Linked DNA regions of Homo sapiens: region 1 is linked to region 2. The links are contacts of gene promoters, found by promoter capture Hi-C in blood cells and fetal thymus (Javierre and others, 2016). All regions are on one chromosome and are shown on one strand. The core of a region is centred on a gene start or on the middle of the fragment in contact, and the rest is flanking DNA. Distances in the headings are between cores, read along the strand shown. Region 1 overlaps PARP8 (poly(ADP-ribose) polymerase family member 8). Region 2 holds the start of PARP8 (poly(ADP-ribose) polymerase family member 8).

Region 1 (3,696 bases), core at 631-3,130, 100 kb before region 2:
TTTTTCTTTGTATGCCAGATTTCAAAGAATTCACAAATGACGCTGTGTATATGCAAACCCATTTCCGTTGTGATGCCCTTTTTATATAATGCCAGTAATTTCATATTTCCCACTGAGAGATTACAAAGCGTGATTACAGTTTGTCCAGATGCAGCGACCCAGTCATCAGGATTGCTTCTATATCTGAATAACTTTCAGTGGCCCAGGATCTCATGAATAGCAAATGCAGAATCAAGTTGAATGCTTGAAATATGACTACAACTTGAATTGTGAAGCTAGACATCTGATTGTGTCCTGAATGCAGTATTCGGTATATAATAACTCAAAATAATTTCATGTGCTGCCTATATTTATTCACTGTGAAAAGATCACATCAAATTGATGAATTCAAATTTTTTTAATATGAGGGAAACAATACAGAAATGATCTAACGAAATTGCTTCATTCTGGTCTGAAAAGAATGCCTCCACAAATGTTCTTTCCCGACATGTAGTGACATATTAAATTCAGGGTGAGCTACTCTTTTAATCTACATTTCTTGAAATCTGGTAATTTGATTTTGGATATTTAAATGTGACTTAGTTCATTTAAGCATATATGTATAAAGTTTTTTTTTTCAATGAATATGGACTTTGAGCCACTGTGTTAGAATTCTTAGCAATTTGTTCTCCTATTTTTAATGGAACTACTCAAGACAATATCCTCACTCGTGAGACACTCACATACACACTTACAATATATTAAATGTTGGAGCATCTATGTTGGTCCTCCTTTGTCTATAAAACTTCAGCTTATTCATTACACTGTTATGATGTTTTATAATGAAACCTGATCAAAATCAGCAGTCATTGTGTTGGTTATGAAAATATATTTCAGATATCTAGCCTTGTCTTATTAACTGTCAGGGAACACACACACACACACACACACATATATGTATATACACATACGTGCATGCATGCAACTCTACCACATGTTCCTAGGAAGTAAGCCTCTATTGCTACTTGTTTATTTCTTCTTTCAACAACTGGATGGTTATATTTTGAGAAGACAGATATTTTGTGAAGATACATACACCTTCCCATGTCATCTGAAACTCAACAGCTTGCATGTCTATCTCTGCATGCCTACTCAATGTGTGGTTTTTGCCCAGCGTGGGAGAGATGTTTGTGAATGGGCCAAGAAATATGCAAACTCAGTAGTCAGGAAGAAATTCTGGCAGATTAAAGCATTTGCAAGACTGCATCCAAGGTAGCTATAAATTTCTCTAAAGAACAACAGGGCTGAGAAAAATTTAAAAATTAGATCCAGATAAGAAAGGAAGCTCATGTAAAACTGTGCATAAGAGGTACAGTATAAACAACTGCTACAACTCTGCAGTCAGCTTAAAAATCTTCAGTTTTGCTAGGAGAAAGCCCTTGCGTTGGGAGTAGTGGTTAGTGTCTAGGATCTGAGCACCTGAAGCTTACATCTAGATTATGTCCCCGTGGTTTGGGAAAATGCTCTCTCCTTTCTTTCCCCTCTGTGCCTCCTGTCATCACTTCCCTGATTTTCAGAGTCAGACTGTTTTTATTCTTTGGCTTGGAGGCAGAGGATGAAGACTCAATATGCTAGAAAGGAGATTACAAAATATTCAATCCAAGATCTTTTTTTGATGAATGATATACATCTATGTAGGCTGAGGTATGTTGTGGTAATAAGCATTCTTAAAATCTCAGTGGCTCAAAACGAAAAAAGATTTCTATCTCACTCCTACCTTATTGTTAATATAGAATTGGGGGTTAGGGAGGGGCAGCTCACTGTCGTCACTAAGGGGCCCAAGGAAGCAGAGCTGAGGGGACATGGGAACTAACACACTAGCACTTAGCTCACATATGACTGGCCAAAATTAGTGATATATCCATGCCTAACACTAAAGAGTGAAAGGAAATACAATCCTACCATAAGACCAGAACAGGAGAACCAGAAGATATGTAAGCAGTCCTACTGGCCACTACAAATGAGAATTCAGAAATCCAGAGAATGTAAAGCAGTGCATTCTGAGGTATGCATTTTTTTTCTTTCCTTTCATTTACCATTTTTGTTTTTTAAAGGAGATACATGTTTGGTGGGTATGAGTAACGTGATATACGTTCCTTAAGCCACCCCAAATTCTCAGAATGCTCGTTTCCCAAACGTTACCCTCAAAAGGCCCAATTACAATTGTCTGTGCACAAAAAGTGATCGAAATAGTCACAACAGTTGACTATTCACAATAGAACAGTCACAATAGAACAGTCACAATTTTAGAAGCTTCCAGCCTACATTAAGCATTAGTCACAATAAAAAGGTTAGACTATTACTCATATGACTTAAATTTTCTAAATGAAAGATGGCATGATAATAAGGTAAAGAATATTTTATATTAAATGGAAGTTTTAAATTTCACAAAGAAACTATCAGAATCATTTCTTTCCTAAACAAATATGAATTTTCTGATCTGTAATTCCCTTTCTAAAAATACTAATTTCAATTTATTTTCCAATGACACTGATCAATTTTATTTTCATAAATATATAGGGAGGTACATTTACAATGAAAAACATAAAATGCGTTTTGTTGAATGATTCAAGATGAGACTTATTCAGACTGATCGCAAAGTTCATGTTGCCCCAAGACCTAACTCACTTCCTATACAAAAGACTATAAATCAGAATTATCATCAATGTTTACATGTATGATTCAACAGCCAGTAGTAGGCTTTTGGATAGAATGGTGAGGTAGAATTGTCATTACCTACTTAAGTAATATATCTATCATCACTCACTTTTTCTACACCTTCTTTCAGCCTTCTTTAAGAGGATTTTGCCTCAATAATCTCAGGATTTTGCCTAGGCAATCTCAGTTACTTCCATCTCTTACAGAGAACTTAGATGTGGTTAGCTGCCTTTCTCATTAGACGTTGCTTTAAAAAAAAAAATTACTCCTAATAGCCTGTTGTGCATATTGAGTTACTTTTGCTCTTCAAACTTCATTAAGTTCTTGTAAGCCCCAATTAGGTAAAAGAACAGCTAATTAGAACAGTCTGTTTTCAACAGACTTAGAACTTTGCAAGGAAGATGATTTCAAGACCTTCTGCCTAACTACCCACCTCTTTTCCCTTGAATCCAAGCCTAAGTATTTGAAACTAGACAGTAAATTCATTCCCATTTAAGTAAATCAAACTAGTCCTGCTGTGATTCACCTTTGTACCATGAAGACTCTAGGAAGATATTTATTTTGGAAATATCCTCTACAGCTAGAGAAAATCTAGAGCAGGCAGGAACATGGCTTACATTCATTAAGATTTAAACTGGATCAAAACTATTACAAGTGAAAAGGGTTAAGGGGAAAAAATTCAAAACACTGATATGACTTTAGATACTTCATTTGACTGAATTTCCAAACATTTTTTAATCTAATTTCAGCAGCTAACAATTATCACTAACTTAATTAATAATAGAAAATACTGATACAGACCATCATAGGTACTTAACAAATGCTTGGTGAAGGAACAAAAAAAGACCTTCATCTATACATGGCAATATGACTGGGGCCTAGACAGCATGGAAAGATGTTTTAGAAAAATATTTAACTATAAAAGAAATAAACATGTGCTAAAGTTGTCCACTAAACAAAAATATTTCTTTCTTTTTTTTTTTGAGACGGAGTTTCGCT
Region 2 (3,874 bases), core at 970-3,469:
TGTGTCCCTAAAGGGCTAAAAGGAAGAAAATCCTAACTCAACAAGTGAAGGTAGCAAGGCATAGTATTTGAATGGCTACCTTTCATTTTAACTCTACTTCCTAAATTCAAAATTGGATTTGGGTTTGTTTCAAGTTGTTCACAATTTACTAACGAAATGTGCATCTCTCATTCTTCCCCCAAAAGAAAGAAGTCATCCACTCCAGCTACATATAAGTCTCCAATTTCTATACGTGAAAACCGAAATACCACTCATTGAAAAAAAAATGTACAGAGAATTGGCAGGCTGCATGTTTATGTAAACCTTCAGAAAACATGGAAACACGCAGCCCCAACTCACCAGGAAAATCAACACTTCTGATCAAACTATTTTGTGACATTTTATGTCTTTTATACATTTCACTTCATATCCAGTATTCCAGTTTTGCACCGGCGTGCCTGTATCAACCCCAAATCGCCTGAGAGCAATCTAGTACTGTAGCAGAACAGTTTCAACATGAAGAGTTCTGCTCATTGCCTGTGGCGTGGTCCTCGAAACACCTGAATCAAACATTGATTCCCCTCCTCCTGCTATTTAAAACCGAGGGACGTCAGGCTTGGGTAGCAGGTAAAGAAAAGCCACAATAATCAAACAAACAAGCAACCAAAATACCCGAACACGGAACACGCTAAGAACAAAGGAAACACAAGAGTGTGAACAGGAAATGAAGCAACTCTATACACATAAATACCTTCTGGGGCCGCCAACGTAGGTAAAAGTAAAGGTGGAGTCAGAGTATCTGAAATCTGAAACAGAAAGTCCCGTCAAAAGCTACCCCTGGAGTGGATTTGTTTTAACCCCGATCAGGACTTGAGCCCCACATTCGGTGGTGTCAGGGGAGGCCTGGCCGGGCAGAAGGCAAGGGCTAGAGGGCGGCGAGGTCCCTCTGCGCCGCGTCCGAGGGGATGCGGCGCGCCCCCGACTGGGTGCAGCGGGAGGCCGCCCCCCGCAACAAGTGCCGGGTGCCATGGCAACAGCGGGAATTTCCCGATAGGGGAGGCCGGAAGCAGCCTCAGCCGGGCTCGCGGTAGCGAAAGCAAAATCCCGGGGGAGCAAAATGGACGAAAGGCGACCCCCAGGCAGGGGCGCTGGGTGCCTTGGGAATCCGAGGAATCCCTTCTCTTTGCCAGTCGGAGGGGACTAGAGGGAGCCGAAGGGGCCGGAGATGGGCCGAGCGCTGCCCCCCGGGGGTCCTCGGCGCCGGGCGCAGCTTACAAGCGCAGCGCAGCGCAGCAGGCTCCATTCCCGGCCGCCGCCGCTCAGCCCATTGCGCAAACCAACCCCGCTCTGCCGCCGCTGCTGGAACCCAGGAAGCGTGCTTGGAGGCTTCGGGCACTACGCGGGGCTGGAAATACCACGCACTGCCCCTTCGCCTAGACCCCCGCTCCGGCCACGCGGGCTCTGCCCTCAAAGCTGGTGGCTGCCTCAGACTTGGCGGTGGGGGAGGGGAAGGGGAGAGGCTGGCGCCCCCTCCCCCTTTTGGCTCCCGCGCTCGTTGCAGCAGCTGTTGCCAAATGAACCCCAGAATGGGGACGTGCAACCCTCCACCCCACCCCCAGCCACAGACGTCGCGGTCAGAAAACTGGGAAGGGGGCGCTGGGTCCGAGGTTCTGGAAAAGCAAGAACTCACCTGCAAACAGGCAGTCCTTCTCAGCTCTGGACTTCTGGATCACGACGTCGATATCCTTCTGAATTCGCTCTTGCCTTGAACACATCCCCATTAAATAAATCCCTGGAAAAGAAGCAGCCGCTATTTCCACCCCACCCCACCCCCCTCGCACGCTTCCAGCTTTCGTAAATATTCAGTTAAAAATGAAACCTCTGGCCGAGGCAGGGGCTGAAGGCGAAGTGGTTTCGGAAGTGATCCTGGGTGAGAGAAGAGGAGGAGGAGGAGGGGGAGGAGGAGGAGGAGGGGGAGGTCGGCTTTGCATTCCCAGATGTGACCGCCCAGCTGCTGCTCGCCGCTGCTGGATTCCAATTTCCTCCCCTTCTGACAATGGATGGTGATGACACCAAGTCTCACTTTCTCCCTCACCCGCCCGGACCAACGGCCGTGGGGGCCGAGGTGCCGGGGACAGCCAGAGAGCAATCACCGGCTGGGCGGCGGGCGCCGGCGAGGGGCGAGCCCCGCTCCGGCTCACGCGCGCACACCCCTCACGGCTCGCACGCCGGCCTTCCACACCCGCGCACACTCGCGCCCGCGGGCGGCGGCAGCCGTGCCCAGGCTGCTGCAGCGCCGCCCGCCCGCCGCAGACCCTCCGCGCCCGCCGCCTAGTCACCCCGCCGGCCGCGGGCTGCCGGGGCTCGCAGAGTATTAGCCATCCCGGGCGGGAGCCGCTTCTCCCCACACCGACCTCCACTCGCGCCGGGAGCTGAGCGGTCGTGAAGACTCCCTGGGGCTCCCAGCCTTCCCTCTCCGCGCCCCTCCCCCCATCACTTTTATGAATTCGACTCCACTTTCTAAAGGAATTATAGTCTTGTGGCAAACCCAAACCGGAGTGGCTGGGAGGGGGAAAAGGGGGGAAAAGAAAATCTTTAAAAATTAAAAAAATAATAAAACGAACAAATCTTTCCTTATTGCCACATCACATAACACGGAAAAGGCCTTAAAATTACTCCAGACGTGCACCCTCCCCTTCCCTCAGTGCCTGAGTCTTTTTCCTCCAGATCGAAGTAGTTCAGCCCTTTTGGGGCGCCGTTTACGAAACACAGCCCCTTTTGAGGGACTTCCTCCTCTTGAAACTCACCAGTTCTCCCTTCCTAGGTGTTTCTGTTCATGAGAAATGGTCAGAATCAACTGGCACGTTCCAGGGTCTTCCTAAAAGATGGAAACCTGTTTGGCTTGATTTTTAAAACCACCTCCTTTGACAGTCAAGGGAAAGCTACAATCCAGGTGTTCAGAAATGAGATACTGCTCTGATTCTCACTTTCTGTTCTGCCTAAGGACACCCCAGGCTGACGTAGCTGCCCCACCTCTATATTGGTTTATGCCCTAGGAGAGGTCTCCAGCAGGCACTTTTCTTGTTGATCTTTTCTCCACTGAGAAGGCTCCCGCCAGTAGACCATGACTCCTTTTGCTTTGCATACTCAGTGCCATGTACAGTGCCTGGAATACAGGAGGGTGGCCTAAATGTTGGCTGAATGCACGAATGGTCATTTCTTGCAGCCTCTTTTCATTACCCTGTCTCATCACTTTTCTTATCAGCATAAGTGCCCAAGAGTTGCCAAACTGTTTCAGACCCTTAATCAATTTAGTTCTGATTCTGACCGTGACAACATGATGTTCAGCACGGTAGGAATGACTGCCATCCCTGAAGGAGTCTTAAGATTCTGTAGAATCAATGAAAGATCCTATGTTCTAACTCCTTTATCTTTCAGGAAACAAATTACAAAATAATTTCCTTGTCCAGTCATATTCACTATGAGTTACAAAAGGAAACATTCTGCATTATTGAGATCCACTGCAGCCTTTGATGTAGTAAAGCCACAGTCACAACAGTCTATATCTCCTGCTCAGTCCTCTCCTGAAATGCTTCCTGTTTAGGGTAGGACAGGTTCAAGCCCTTTGTCCTTCCTGGATATGTTGCTTTGTGTAGGCCCTTTGGCTGCCAAAAATGCTCTCTTCTCTTCCACATCACCACTGAGAATCATGAGTATTTCTTCTTCCATTATGTGCTTTAATTTCTCTGAAAGGCTGAAAGTCTATTAACTCACAAGAATTTATTTTATAGTTATCTAGCCACAAGGCTTGCATCTTCCAAGTAGAACCCTTACTACAAATAAATGTGAAATAGTTTTAAAGCTACCAAATATTTTTTTGTCTGGATGAGCTCTT

The links. Contacts are between HindIII fragments. The CHiCAGO score rates a contact against its expected background, and 5 or more counts as called.
Region 1: a fragment that was not itself captured here is called in contact with the fragment with the promoter of PARP8 in region 2 in 11 of 17 cell types (activated CD4 T cells, neutrophils, M0 macrophages and 8 more); the score reaches 9.6 in activated CD4 T cells.

Annotation. Positions count from the first base shown.
Region 1 is chr5:50,765,247-50,768,942 of GRCh38, reverse strand. All of the region lies in intron 7 of PARP8 (poly(ADP-ribose) polymerase family member 8), which reads right to left. Among named protein-coding and RNA genes, the nearest start is that of PARP8, 100 kb to the right of the region's middle. The HindIII fragment of the contact is 828 bases long and covers 1,467-2,294 here.
Region 2 is chr5:50,664,982-50,668,855 of GRCh38, reverse strand. PARP8 (poly(ADP-ribose) polymerase family member 8) reads right to left here and starts at 2,219. Exons shown (of 26, transcript NM_024615.4): 1 at 1,670-2,219; 2 at 731-785. The coding sequence starts at 1,760. RefSeq lists silencers at 1,095-1,424, 2,117-2,176, 2,227-2,376 and enhancers at 397-1,596, 1,032-1,944. The HindIII fragment of the contact is 4,109 bases long and covers 1-3,874 here.